Regions from separate parts of the Homo sapiens genome. Here all the other regions are linked to region 2. Evidence: promoter capture Hi-C in 16 types of primary human blood cells and fetal thymus (Javierre and others, 2016). All regions are on one chromosome and are shown on one strand. The core of a region is centred on a gene start or on the middle of the fragment in contact, and the rest is flanking DNA. Distances in the headings are between cores, read along the strand shown.

The links. Contacts are between HindIII fragments. The CHiCAGO score rates a contact against its expected background, and 5 or more counts as called.
Region 1: a contact is called between a fragment that was not itself captured here and the fragment with the promoter of SLC25A3 in region 2, in 1 of 17 cell types (non-activated CD4 T cells). The highest score is 6.8, in non-activated CD4 T cells.
Region 3: a contact is called between the fragment with the promoter of MRPL42 here and the fragment with the promoter of SLC25A3 in region 2, in 2 of 17 cell types (total CD8 T cells and total CD4 T cells). The highest score is 9.8, in total CD8 T cells.

Annotation. Positions count from the first base shown.
Region 1 is chr12:93,380,164-93,385,012 of GRCh38, reverse strand. The region is part of intron 1 of NUDT4 (nudix hydrolase 4); the gene reads right to left. Among named protein-coding and RNA genes, the nearest start is that of NUDT4, 4.7 kb to the right of the region's middle. The HindIII fragment of the contact is 592 bases long and covers 2,581-3,172 here.
Region 2 is chr12:98,590,070-98,595,017 of GRCh38, reverse strand. SLC25A3 (solute carrier family 25 member 3) reads right to left here and starts at 1,332. Exons shown (of 8, transcript NM_002635.4): 1 at 1,278-1,332; 2 at 883-1,043. The coding sequence starts at 1,039. It also overlaps the pseudogene PPIAP8. RefSeq lists enhancers at 293-917, 1,241-1,340, 918-1,542, 1,591-1,810. The HindIII fragment of the contact is 3,126 bases long and covers 1-2,032 here.
Region 3 is chr12:93,464,657-93,469,137 of GRCh38, reverse strand. It overlaps MRPL42 (mitochondrial ribosomal protein L42), which reads right to left and starts at 1,624. Exons shown (of 6, transcript NM_014050.4): 1 at 1,584-1,624. RefSeq lists enhancers at 1,403-1,672, 1,733-1,792. The HindIII fragment of the contact is 2,939 bases long and covers 1-1,843 here.

The DNA.
Region 1 (4,849 bases), core at 1,627-4,126, 5.2 Mb after region 2:
GAGTAAGAGACCAGCTTGGCCAACATGGTGACTAAAAATACAAAACTTAACTAAAATTTAAATACAAAATTCAACTAAAAATACAAAAATTAGCCAGGCGTGATGGCATGTGCCTGTAATCCCAGCTACTTGGAAGGCTGAGGCAGGAGAATGGCTTGAACCTGGGAGGCGGAGGTTGCAGTGAGCTGAGGTCACGCCTCTGCACTCCAGCCTGGGTGACAGAGTGAGACTCTTAAAAAAAAAAGAATAGTGTATTGACAGTAGTCAACAGGAAACCAACCCTAAATCTTATTGGATAAAAGTCTATGAATTAGAATGATCTATTGCAAGCCTGCTCAACCTGTGGCCCGTGGACTGCATGCAGTCCAAGATGGTTTTGAATGCAGCCAAACACAAATTTGTAAACTTTCTTAAAATATTATAAAATATTTTTGCAATTATTACTTTTTTAGCTTACCAGCTATCATTAATGTTAGTGTATTTTATGTGTGGCCCAAGACAATTCTTCCAATGAGGCCCAGTGAAGCTAAAAGATCGGACACCCCAGGCCAGGCACGGTGGCTCACGCCTGTAATCCCAGCACTTTGAGAGGCTGAGGTGGGCAGATCACGAGGTCAGGAGATCAAGACCATCCTGGCCAACATAGTGAAACGCCGTCTCTACTAAAAATACAAAAAATTAGCTGGGCGTGGTAGCACACGCCTGTAGTCTCAGCTACTCGGGAGGCTGAGGCAGGAGAATCGCTTGAATCCAGGAGGCAGAGTTTGCAGTGAGCTGAGATTGCACCACTGCACTCCAGCCTGGTGACAGAGCGAGAAAAAAAAAAAAGCTTGGGCACCCCTGATCTATTTTATAGAATCTATACCCTTTATCACCTGACGGGTCCTCCTCGCTGGTGATGTATAAAAGGGTGCTGTTCAAGGGCTATGTAATGCATTTATGCCTTCAGAGGCTGTAGGTCCTTGGGCCTCGAATTCCCATTTGTGTTTCAGCTTTTACCCTTAAAGATGCAATTGTCATGGCTTGGCTCTAGGAACTCCAACCACTATAGATACCACTTCTGTTCCCGGGAAGGGGAGCGGAGGAGCCATCCAGAGAACCTCAAGTGACCCCTAAGAATGAAGAGGTTTATTATGAAAATTGTAGCTATTCAGAAACTGTTTGTTGTTGTTGCTGTTTCTGAGACGCTGTCTCGCTCTGTCGCCCAGGCTGGAGTGCAGTGGCGCAATCTCAGCTCACTGAAAGCCCCGCCTCCTGGGTTCAAGGGATTCTCCTACCTCAGCCTCCGGAGTAGCCAGCACTACAGGCACACACCACCACGCCTGGCTAATTATTGTATTTTTAGTAGAGACGAGGTTTTGCCATGTTGCCCAGGCTGGTCTTGAACCCCTGACCTCAGGTGATCCACCCACCTTGGCCTCCCAAAGGGCTGGGATTACAGGCGTGAGCCACTGCACCTGGCCTACTCAGAAACTGTTTCGAGGTTGCTATTCTTTCTTTCCAAATTATCATAAATCAGGGTATCATGAATGGTTGAAACTACGTTAACCTAATTCTACTACACTTAACCAAAATTTAGCCAAAATTAGGCCAGCCGTGTTATTAGAAACACCCACTATGCACATAGACATTTTAAAAGAACATAGGTTATGAAAATGGTTTGATACATGCTAAACAGCTACCTACTATTAAGAAAATTAGTACTTCTTTTTGGACCAGAGGCAGAGTAGACCAGAAATAACAGTTCTTTCTTCTAAACTATGTTTAGCTCCAACTTATATGGGATTGGTAGATAAGTATTATCAATAATGTTGTAAATCAGGTTGACCATGGATTTTTTACCTAGCAGGTCAATGTTTTAAAGTGACGGGGTATAAGCTTTTTTTCAATTAGAGAAAAGCTTGAGCTATACCAAGACCCTAAGAAAAAAAAAAAAAATCCAATGCAAATTCTACGTTAATGCCTGGTTTAATGACGGGAAACCTTCTGGGAGAGCTGGAGGCACAGATGAAGAAGTTGGTGACACTTCCCTGTGTTTAAAAAAGGCTTCCAAGCCGGGTGCAGTGGCTCATGCCTGTAATCCCAGCACTTTGGGAGGCTGAGGTGGGTAAATCACAAGGTCAGGAGATCAAGACCATCCTGGCTAACACAGTGAAACCCCTTCTCTACTAAAAATACAAAAAATTAGCCAGGTATGGTGGCGGCTGCCTGTAGTCCCAGCTACTTGAGAATGGCGTGAACCTGGAAGGCGGAGCTTGCAGTAAGCTGACATCGCGCCACTGCACTCCAGCCTGGAGGACAGAGCGAGACTCTGTCTCAAAAAAAAAAAAAAAAAAAAGGCTACCTTTGGATAGTACTTATTTTTGATGAAAGTGGTCTCCATTTGAAAGAAATACCTTCAAGGACTTAACTCTGAAGAACTATGAGCCCCAGAGTATGTGTGAAAAGGGTGGACTGACTGTTGATTCTAAGTATAAAAATGCTAGTTGAGATTTAACTCTAGTAATATTTTGAATTAGTATTGTTGCTCATCGGAGCTCTGGTTTTAGGTTTTCAGACTTGACCTTTCCCACCAAAGCTTTACTGCATGATTTTGTACAGCTCAAGATTTTTCAGGAATATATATTCAGCATTATAGCAGACCATCTGTAGAAGACAGCCCCTGGCTCATAGAGCTTAAAAGCTAATTAGGGCAGCAAGTCCTATGGAAGAGTAGTGGTTTTTTTTGTTGTTTTTTTTTTTTTTTTTGCAGGCAGGGTCTTGCTCTGTTGCCCAGGCTGGAGTGCAATGGCATGATCTCGGCTCACTGCAGCCTCCACCTCCCAGGTTCAAGGGATTCTCATGCCTCAGCCTCCTGAGTAGCTGGGATTACAGGCACATGCCACCACGCCCGGCTGCTTTTTGTATTTTGTATTTTTGGTAGAGACAGGGTTTCGCCATGTTGGCCAGGCTGGTCTCAAACACTTGACTTCAGGTGATCTGCCCACCTCCGCCTCCCAAAGTGCTGGGATGACAGGCATGAGCCACCTGCCTGGCCTGTAGTGGTTAGTCCTTCAGACTGATTTGTTAATGCCTCTCTTGCAACTATGTCTGGATTTCACACAGGATCAAGTCATTCTACTTCTCCCCTTAGCAGTCTAAACCTATTTTGCTGCCAGATCACTCTCAAGCTTGAACACATCTACTATCTCAATGTTCTTTGTTCAAAACTAAGTTCAAAACAAAACTTTGTTCTTGCGTAGCAACTTCTCAACCTTACATTTGAAGTGTTGCAAATTTTTCAACTATTACTGATTCTATGCTATCCCTAAGCTGCAGCCAAATCTATCACAGCCCCAAGTCTTGCTCTATTTGGGACGCCTGGTCCCTCCTCTCCCAGTCACCCACATCCAACTCCAAATGACTCACATTGGATCTGAACCCCAGAATACCCGACCGCACTTTTCCCTTACTTTATTTCCCTTTCCATTGATCCCTTGTCCAACCTTTCCCTACAGAATGATTCTTAGGAGCTAAGACCTCATCTCTTCATCCCCTTTTAAACTATCATATATGCAAATACATTCAACAGAATCCATTTCTGATTACCTATTTGTAAAAGCATTGTCATCTTTCACTGTACAAGCACAGTACCCAGCTACTCTACAGGGCAATTAGCTGTGGGCCTGTCTAGAAGCCCAGCGGCCAAAACTGAGGGTGCTTCCCCACAGAAATAACTAGCTGGGGAGGTAGGTCAAATAAACAAAACATTTAGAAACAAAGGACCAGAGCTCAAAAGGATCTGCCAGCTTCTGTGACCTTGGGATAGGTTACTTCTGCTACCTAATTTCTTCCTAAACAAATACTAATACTTATTTACCCTACAGAACAGAAAAAGATAAAATGGAAAATATTTAATATATAAAGCCACCTTAAAAGAATAACTCTGCTCTTAGAACAACCTTCTTTCCTAGAACAATCTGTTTTAAAGTAGAAACTTACTGAGAACTTCAGTACAGGAACAGCCAGATGGGAGCGCCACGTAGCTTTTTTGGGGTCAAATTGCAATTACTCTTTTACTTCCATTTGTACTCTATATAAACATTTCATCCTCAAACAAAACATACATTTAAATCTTCTAACCAGGATCTAGGTGTTTTTCATCCAGTAGAGGGAAACATTTCTCACCTATTAACTAGAGAGGTGGGCTCAAGCTGGTTTTCTAGACTGTCCTGGGAAGTCTGGCAATGCAATTTCAACAGAGTGAAGGCAAATTCATAGAGAAACAATAGAATCTCCAGGAAAGCTAACAGAGTTTATTCTGTAATAATCATGTAATAGATAAAGCCTCAACTACACACAATCACAGAAATGAAAATTCTGAAGAGCTAAACCAGATGTTAAAATTGGCTGTGCATTTCACTTAAGGAGAATTCTAGAGTCTTCCCTCAGATCATATCCTCTAACAAGATGACTCACTCTCTTCAATTCTCAACCTACAGGTTATCAGATTTACAAAGTTTTATACAATGGATTTTTCTAATACATTCTCCAAAACTTGCTCCCTACTTCACCTTACCTAATGACACGGGTCTCTTGACTCAACTAGAGGCTATGAATTTAGTATTTATTTCAGTAGAAATAATATCCAAGCATAAAAATAATCATTTATTTTTATTGCTAAAGTAATTCCTAAAGCTTCTATCAGTCTTTGCTTTACCATAAGCACAATAGAGATCATCATTTCAATTTCCATCACTCATATTTTCCCCTAGAGTCTAGTATTTTTACAAAGCCTGAATTCCAAGTTCACATTATGGCAACACTTCAGTCACCACTTTCAGATAGGCTTCCAAACTTAGCCTCACAA
Region 2 (4,948 bases), core at 83-2,582:
TGTAACATAAAAACGGATACGCACAAATTCCTGCAGTCAAATACATTTAATACACAAATAATGTTAGCTTTAACTTTTAAACTGAACGACAGATAGTGTAAATAAGGACTCTATCCATACTAAAGACAACAGAAGCACATGAATGATTTAAAGAAAAAAATCTTTCGATTTTACAGGCACAAGGTAGATAACATTCTTAGGACTCCTACAATTCGGTTTTCAGGTTTCTCTGTATGTACATACTTCACTAGGATTTAAAACACACACAACTAAGTTAAAGCTGGGCCCAACCACCAAGAATCCCAAGAGATAATCACACCAAAGGGACGCCCACCAATTATCTCCTTTCTATTGCCTATGTAGGGCTGCAAGCTGCCTCCTCCAGTCGCACGAAAACAGGACATCTAGTTATCTCATATACAATTAAGTGCAAAAATGACTGACCTGGCGTCGACAAATATAAAACTTAGGAAAGGACTATTTTTAAGAAAACTAAGGGCAAATCAAAGGACAGGTAATATAGTTAGTAGAACTGTGGGTGGTCAGTAGTTTCGGGAGGAGAGTTTACCCAGTACTTAGTTTGCTGACCAAGCGAGCTCACGGCGGAGAAAGAGCTAGTCACGGCCTCTCTTCCCTCGGGCACACGGAGGTCACGAAGGGACACAGGGCCTCAGCGCTTCCACGCCCTTGAGGGAAGGCCAAGGATCTGACACCCGCCTATGGTGGAAAAGGCCGATACCCCAGGGCAAGCAACTGGGCGCCGTCCTACGGTGCAGCGGGCTGGACTCGTCCTTCCCTGTCCTCCAAGCCGGGTCCAGGCCTCAAAGGCTGGGCGGCCCACAAGTAGACCACACGACTGTATTGGGCAGGGTCTGATCTCACCTTCCACGGCGGCGGCTGCCAGGTTGCGAGGGCGGCGGGGCTGGCCCGTGGGCCCTGGGGAGCTGCTGCGGAGGTCCCCGAGACCATCGTGCACCAGCTGCAGATGTGGCGTGTTGAAGGGGTTCGCCCGCGCCAGGTGCGCCACGGACGAGAACATCTTTCTAGGGGAGGAGGGAGCGACGGTTAGAGGACAGGCAAGGCGCCGGTTAACGTTACCGGCGCCCTGGAACCCCAACCGGGGCCTTTTCCTTCCCGTCTCCACGCCCTTGAAGAGGTCACGGCGGCCTTCGAAAGAGGCTGCTCCCGGCTGGGCCCACCGCCAAAGCAGCGGCCCCACAGGAGCTCTGGGCTCCGCTCCCCACACCCGCCACAGGAGAAGGCCCGGCCACACTCACTCCCTAAGATGGCGATCACACAACCACTCCCTTGGAAAGGTTGCGGCTCACAGAGGCCGGACGTCCTCCGGGTCCTAAGATGTGTGCCCTTCGCGCGTCGTCGGCGTGACGCACACAGCGCGCCACTGCAAGTACGCGTCGCCCATTGGTGGAGAAGAGCGCCGAGCCCGTAGCGTCATCGCGTTCTCCTAGCAACCTTATTCCCGCCCCTGCCCGCCCCAGCTCTTCCGCCCGGCTTGTGCGCGGGAGGATTCGTTCTGCGCAGGCGCGCGTTCCGGGTCTATATTTTTTGAGAGGGGTCGGGCTCGAGCTCTTACCCTGCTCGCTTTGTCCCTTCACCTTCAGGTGTCTCTCCTTGACCACGGGCTTCAGTTCGCTTCACTTAAGTGAATCACAGTATCTAGTAGTCACTTAAAAAACAAAACAAAACGCGAATGCTTGATAATATATTTAGGTGTTGGAGTTACAACATCACTGCAGTACTTTGTGTCACAACTTCTGCCATTACAGTACTTTTTAAAATAAGTTCCATCCATTGACATTAAACATAGGTATGTCTGTATTTTTCATCAGACTCCTGGAGAATATTTTAAAAAGAAATGTGCAGCAAGAAGTCTTACGACAGCTTGCCGCGTTATCACAGTAATCTACAGAACACGTTGAAACATTGAACTCCTGAGATGTTACAGCGATGAACTACTGAAAGTGACTGATAGCAGATTGTGCGTGTGTGTGGTTAATACATTTAGGAAGCTTTCATTAGATTCAGCTCAACAGGGAGGGGCGTAGTTTAGTTGGGGAGAGTTTAATAGGGATTCAACCTGTTAGACTTCTGACTCTTATATTTTCCAAGCTCTTGACAAAGTAACCTTGGGAATTTACTTCATCTCTGTGTACCTGTTCCCTAGATGTAAGATAGGGGTGGGACTGGCCTCATAGGTTCACACTGGTACAGTCACACATGGCCTTACACTTCATTTAATGCTCTGCTGTCATTTTGATTTTTTTTTTTTTTCTTTTGAGATGGAGTCTTGCTCTGTCGCCCAGGCTGGAGTGCAGTGGGGCGATCTCAGCTCACCGCAACCTCCGCCTCCCGGGTTCAAGCGATTCTCCTGTCTCAGCCCCCGGAGTAGCTGGGACTACAGGCGTGCACAACCACGCCCGGCTAAGTTTTCTATTTTTAGTAGAGACAGAGTTTCGTCACGTTGGCCAGTCTGGTCTCGAACTCCTGAGCTCAGGTGATCCGCCCACCTCGGCCTCCCAATGTGCTGGGATTACAGGCCTGAGCCACCATGCCCGGCTTGAAATTCTTAATACATGTATGAACAAGGGGCCACGCTTTTTTTAGTTTGCACTGGACCCTGCAAATCAGGTGTCTGGTTCTGGATGGGAGTAATACTTACCTTGCAGAGTCTATGAGAACTCAATGAGATAATGTCTAAAAGTCTACAGAAGATGTTACCTAAAAAAAGTTAGCATTGGCCGGGCGAGGTGGCTCACGCCTGTAATCCCAGCACTTTGGGAGGCCGAGGCGGGCAGATCACGGGGTCAGGAGATCGAGACCATCCTGGCTAACACGGTGAAACCCCGTCTCTACTAAAAATACAAAAAATTAGCCGGGCGAGGTGGCGGGCGCCTGTAGTCCCAGCTACTGAGGAGACTGAGGCAGGAGAATGGCGTGAACCCAGGAGGCAGAGCTTGCAGTGAGCCGAGATCATGCCACTGCACTCCAGCCTGGGCGACAGAGCAAGACTCCGTCTCAAAAAAAAAAAAAAACAAAAAAACAAAAGTTAGCATTGAGGCTGCGGCATCACGGCACTCTCTAAGCAACCCTATCCCAGACCCAGCCCTTCTGGCCCAACTAAAGTCCTACAGTCCCAGGAAGAATTCCAGAGTGGAGGGCACAGGAAGGGAAGTAGTGACAGATAAAGTTAAAAAAGTACACTAGCACCTGATTGTCCAGGGCCTCACATACCAGACTGAGGAGTCTGATCTTATGTAGACAGAGGTAGTCACTGAAGGGTCTGGACTTTCTCTCTCTCTTTTTTGGTTAATTCAACTTTATGGTGCTTTTCTAATTTAAAAATCCTTTGTCATGAAAAAGTCAAATATTATGTAAAAATATATGACTGTAGTGAATCTTCCTATTCCCTTCCCCCAGCACCGGGTAATACCGTGACCCTTTGCTGCACATTTTTTCAGCTGGAACAGCTGGTACCCTTCACCATGGGGCTGCACATGCTCGTGGCCCAGAACTCACAGAAGTTGATCTAGAAGATACAGTGGTAACTGAAGGAGCTGCAGGCCCAGCTCCTACCCCATGTGGGAGCTGGTGACCTTCAGAATGTAATGACTGTTGCTCCACTTCTGCCTTCCAAACTGCACACATTTCTCTTATAGCTAGCCCTAACCCAAAACTATGCAGGGAAAGGAATCTAGGAAATGTGGTTCTAGCCTAGCTAAGTTGACATGGTAAAAAAAACACCACTGGGCTTTGCAGGCACCGCTGCTGCCAGGAGCCCTGTGCTATCAGCCATGGTCAACCCCACCGTGTTCTTTGACACGGAGCCCTTGGGCCGCATCTCCTTTGAGCTGTTTGCAGACAAGTTTCCAAAGACAGCAGGAAACTTTCATGCTCTGAGCACTGGAGAGAAAGGATTTGGCTATAAGGGTTCCTGCTTTCACAGAATTGTTCCAGGGTTTATGTGTCAGGGTGGAGACTTCACATGCCATGATGGCACTGGTGGCAAGTCCATCTACAGGGAGAAATTTGATGACAAGAACTTCATCCGGAAGCATACAGTTTCTGGCATCTTGTCCATGGCAAATGCTGGACCCAACGCAAACAGTTCCCAGTTTTTCATCTGTGCTGCCAAGACTGAGTGGTTGGATGGCAAGCATGTGGTCTTCAGCAAGGTGAAAGAAGGCATGAATATTGTGGAGACCATGGAGTGCTTTGGGTCCAGGAATGGCAAGACCAGTAAGAAGATCACCATTGCTGACTGTGGGCAACTCTAATAAGTTTGACTTGTGTTTTATCTTAACCACCAGACCATTCCTTCTGTAGCTCAGGAGAGCACCCTCCACCCCATTTGCTCGCAGTATCCTAGAATCTTTGTGCTCTCACTGCAGTTCCCTTTGGGTTCTATGTTTTCCTTGTTCCTTTCCATGCCTAGCTAGATTGCAGAGTTAAGTTTATGATTATGAAATAAAAACTAATTAACAACAGCAACAAAAAAAGTACCAGAGTCTATCGGTTGTCAACATGGCATCAATGAACACCTCTTGTAATCATATTTAACTTCCAGACAAAAACTAAAGAGCAAAATCAGACTTCTACCTAACATGAAGCAGCTGTCCCTTGGACAATTGTGAACAAGCTAATTCTACCCAAAAGAGGATACAAAATCCTTTTATCCGTCTTTAGGTGATGTTATTGCAGCAGGTATGGACTAAGACAAGGGGGTTGGCCTCCTTAACATTCAAGAGGCTCTCGGCCTCCAACCTGACACAAGTAGGGAAATTGCCTGAAGGACCATAACTCTCCACTGTGGAGATTCAAATCTGCCTCCCGGGTTCAAGCAATTCTCCTGCCTCAGCCTCCGGAGTAGCTGGGATTACAGGCACGCGCCACCATGCCCGGCTAATTTTGTATTTTTAGTAGAGATGGG
Region 3 (4,481 bases), core at 375-2,874, 5.1 Mb after region 2:
TAAACACCACAAGAACAAGGTAAGAATCACTGCCTAGAAGTCAACTGAAGCAATGCTTTTAAACAACTTGGCAATTCCACATGATTGAACAACAGGACGAAGAGCGACATGGACAGAATATAAGATCAGAACCACTGGAACTATGTCCATTACTATTTATCTTAGATACAAACTTCTCTGCAGGACCCAGTGCAGCTCCTTCCACTTAATGAATACTCAGTAAATGTGTAATTACTCTTGAAACAGTCACTCACAAATGGTACACAGAGTATTCATTCTTTTAATGCTAGTGTGGCTGTGTACACCCTCCAAGGTTCCATACACAAGATACTACATCATTTACAGTACTATCCTGTTTCTGATTAAATGAAATAGTTGTCTGCCCTGAGCCATTAATAATAATAATAATAATAAAGAAATATCAAACAAGGCCTATCCTTAGCCTATTACTCAATTGGAGGAACTCATAAATGCCCTCAAGTCCCAGATAAAATTTCACCATCTTATATGTGTACAAAGTCTTTAACTTTCCAACGTACTTTCACCACCATTTCATTTTGCTCTCGTATTAATCATGTGAGGTATCTTTATTCTGATTCATGAAGAAACTAAAGTACAAAATTTAAACGTCTTGCTTCCAAGGACTTTAGAGTCAGTCACTGCCAAATTGGGAAACTTTAAACAAGTCATTAACTAAACGATCCTCAGTTTCTCCAATGACAAAATGGGGAAAACCACAATCTTCATGGCCTGTTGTGAATAAATGACAAATAACCATTGTTAAATCTTGTTTTTAATAGTCTTCAATGAGTATCCGTGCCCTTCCCCCCAATAGTGATAAAAGAGAATTAGGACACAGGCCCTCTTATTTGCTAGTCTAAACCACTCACACTGATACCTTGCACTGCCAGTACATTAACACCGTTAACCCTGAGCTCATAGGTGTGCTTTTTAGTTTACAACCCACTTTCATATACAATATGTGCTCTGACTTTCACAAGTGTGTGAAGCAGCATCTCCATTTCAGATTAAGAACAAAGGCTCAGAGAGGTCAATCGATTACTTGCTCAGTATATCGCTGCTTAATACATGCGTGGGACGTAAACCCATGACTTCTGACCACGAATAAAACATCTTGGGGGAAATTAGGTCCCCTCTGTCCGAAGCCCAGAGAAAAGCACGCCCTGCTGGGAGTCAGATTATTCACCCCAGGAAGATCATTTCAGAGATCAAGTCCCTCAGCCCGGAATTCAACCCCAAAACAAAAGCTACAGAGCCTCTGAGGGTCAGAGGTTTGAGGAACAGGCTACCAAGAGCACCAGAACTCTTCGACCTAAAGGAGTCCCTAGAGCCACAAGCTGCATCACCTCCCCACGGGCGTCCGCCAGGGAACAAAGGGGGCGCTATAAGAAACGCGCAGCCACATGCCGGCTCTTCTGCAGGAAGGACAAAGGCTGGGGATGCAGGCAACCTCGCCCTGCCGGGAACGACAGGCGGGAGACCTCTACAACTGCCGACCAACACTGTGGGACTGCCCAGTTTCGAGGAAGTCCTCGACAGGAGGAGTAGAGGGAAGCGGTTACCTTGACGGCTTCTCACCACGAACCCGCCATCTTGTTTCAATCCTGGTCCCACGAAACAGCGCTGCGCGCGCCGTCCCAGCCCGCGGGGCATTCTGGGAAATGTAGTCTCCGCGGGAAAGCGGCCCGGGTGCAGAGAGAAAGGGAGGATTGTTGCTATGGACTTTTACCTTTAGTTGGGGAAGCGTGGCCGCAGTGTTACTAAGGTGCCCAGAAAAACAAAATCACTGCCCCAAACACATACCCTTAGAAAGTAACAAGCTTTTTTTTTTTTTTTTTTTTGTGAGGCAGTCTCATTCTGTCACCCAGACTGGAGTGCAATGGCTCCCTCACGGCTCACTGCAGCCTCTACCTCCTGGGCCCAAGAGAGCCTCCCACCTCAGCCTCCTGAGTAGCTGGTACTACAGGCGCACACCACCACACCCAGCTAATTTTTTAATATTTTTGTAGAGACGAGGTCTCGGTATGTTGCCCAGGCTTGTCTCAAGCAATCCTCCTGCCTCGGCGTCCCAAAGTGCTGGAATTACAGGCATGAGCCACCATGCAAACCTATAAGTACTTTTTAAAAAAATTATGTTAATATTCAGAGAAATCGTAGATTGCTCTTTAGTAGATGAGTTAAAGTTTCCCAGGGGAAGAGACATTCCAGAGAAGCCCTGAAATGTGGAGGCTAGGATTTGGACGTTTGAAATCAGAACCTGAAGAGAACCTCCACTCTGAAAACCTGGCACTGTGCCCTCAGAACTGTGCTGGCTACCTATTATGGGAGGAAGTAAATATGCAGAATCTTGGACCTCGCTTTCCATCTTAGGAGGAAGGAAAGACCTCTGGGCCTTTGCACTCTCTGTTCCCATTGCCAGCAATGTGCTTCTCTGACCTCTTCTCATGACCTTACAGGTCTTTCTCAAATATCATCTTAGAAAGGACCACACCATTAAAATAGCCTCACCCACCCTTATTCCATGCCCCGCTTTATTTTCCTTCAGAATATTTACCATTACCTGACTTTATATTGATTATTTGTTTGCTCGTTGAATGTCTCTTTCTTTTTTTTTTTTTTTTTGAGACGGAGTCTTGCTCTATCGCCCAGGCCGGAGTGCAGTGGCATGATCTCAGCTCACTGCAACCTCCGCCTCTCAGCTTCAAGCGATTCTCCTGCCTCAGCTTCCTAATTAGCTGGGATTACAGGTGGCCACCACCACGCCCAGCTAATTTCTGTATTTTTAGTAGAGATGGGGTTTCGCCATGTTTGCCCGGCTGATCTCGAACTCCTTACCTCAGGTGATATGCCCACCTCGGCCTCTCAAAGGGCTGGATTACAGGCGTGAGCCACCACACCCAACCTCGTTTAATGTCTCTTATGCTGGATAATGTAAGCTCCTTGAAGACAGAGACATATGTCTATCTTGTTCTTCACTGTATGCAAACCCAGCATCTCAGACTGTGCTTGGTCTCATTATAGGTCTCCAGGAAGTGTTTGCTGAATGAATGAAAAGACTAGATAACGCTGCAAGTATCCAAGACAGTAGATGATTGGCTGGTAAAGCAGAAGCGGTCGCCTGGAAATTCCCTTCTCCCATGATTTGCAAAATTTTGCTTTTGTATATTTTTCTAAGAAATAATCTATAGCTTTTATTATGTATTCCAGGGAATTGATAAACCCCTCAACAAGTTAAGAACCATATTCCTGAAGTGACTAGTATTGAAAGTAAGTGAACACACATCACATAGTAAAGAAAACTAAATACGGGCTGTGTAGTGTGTCTCCTCATTTCCCACGGAATATCAGGAGGCTAATCTTTGCTCTTATAGAAGCCCACAGAGGGCCCATCTGTGTCCTTTCCAGTCGTGTCCATCCTCCAAAGCCACCCATGATGTCTTTCTGGACTGTGCAATAGGAAGGGACAGAGAGGAGAAACAGATTTGAATGAGCAGTCAACTGGACTGGTTGAACATTCCCTGCGTAAAGTGTAAGAAGAATGGATCAAAGATAATTCCAGAGGTCAAGTCTTGATGGCTGTGAGCAGAGTGGGACCAGTCCCCAACAGGGAGACTCACTTAGTGGGACCAAGGAAGGTCTCACAAAGCTGAGACCAGAAAAGAAACCAACATTTTTGGGGGAAGAGAGGGGAGAGACAGGTTTAGGCTGAGTGAGGGAACAACTTACACAAAGGTTTAATGTGGTGGAAATAGCTTACCATATACTGGAGTAGGGTGGATAGTGTGGATGAGAGCGGCAGGAGATGAGATTTGGAGCCAGGTCATGTTGGGCTTCATAAGCCTTGGAGGGGTTAACATGGAGTTAGGACACAGGACATATGTAGAGATTAAATAGAGTAGGTGGTGCTGTGTGCCTGTAGTCCTAGTTACCCTGGGAATGGGAGGCTGAAGTGGGAGGATTGCTTGAGCCCAGGAGGTCAAGGCGGTAGTAAGCTATGATCGTGCCGTGCACTCCAGCCTGGGTGACAGAGTGAGCCCTGTCTCTTGAGATTTTTACATGAAAGAAGTGACATAATTTGATTTCCATTTTTAAAAGGTTACTCTGGCTGCCCTGGGAGGAGTGGTTTGGAGAGTGGCAAGACCGCAGGCAAGTCTAGCAAGGAAGCTACTGCAGTACTGCAGTCAAGAAATCATGTGATGGAGGGTGGTGGCAGTGGAGATGGAGAGACAGGAAGAGTCCAGATGTATTTTGAAATTGGAAGTGATGACTTAACTTGCTGATGGATTGATTGAGAGGGAGGAAGATACTTCAGGTGATGCTTTGATGACTAGTTGACAGTGGTGCCCTTCATAAGACAAGGAAGACTGAAAGAGGAACAGGTTTGGGGAGTCTGATGATGGTGGAAATGCATACTTCCGTTTGGGAGTTGTTGAGTTTGAGATGGCTCTGAGACACTCCAG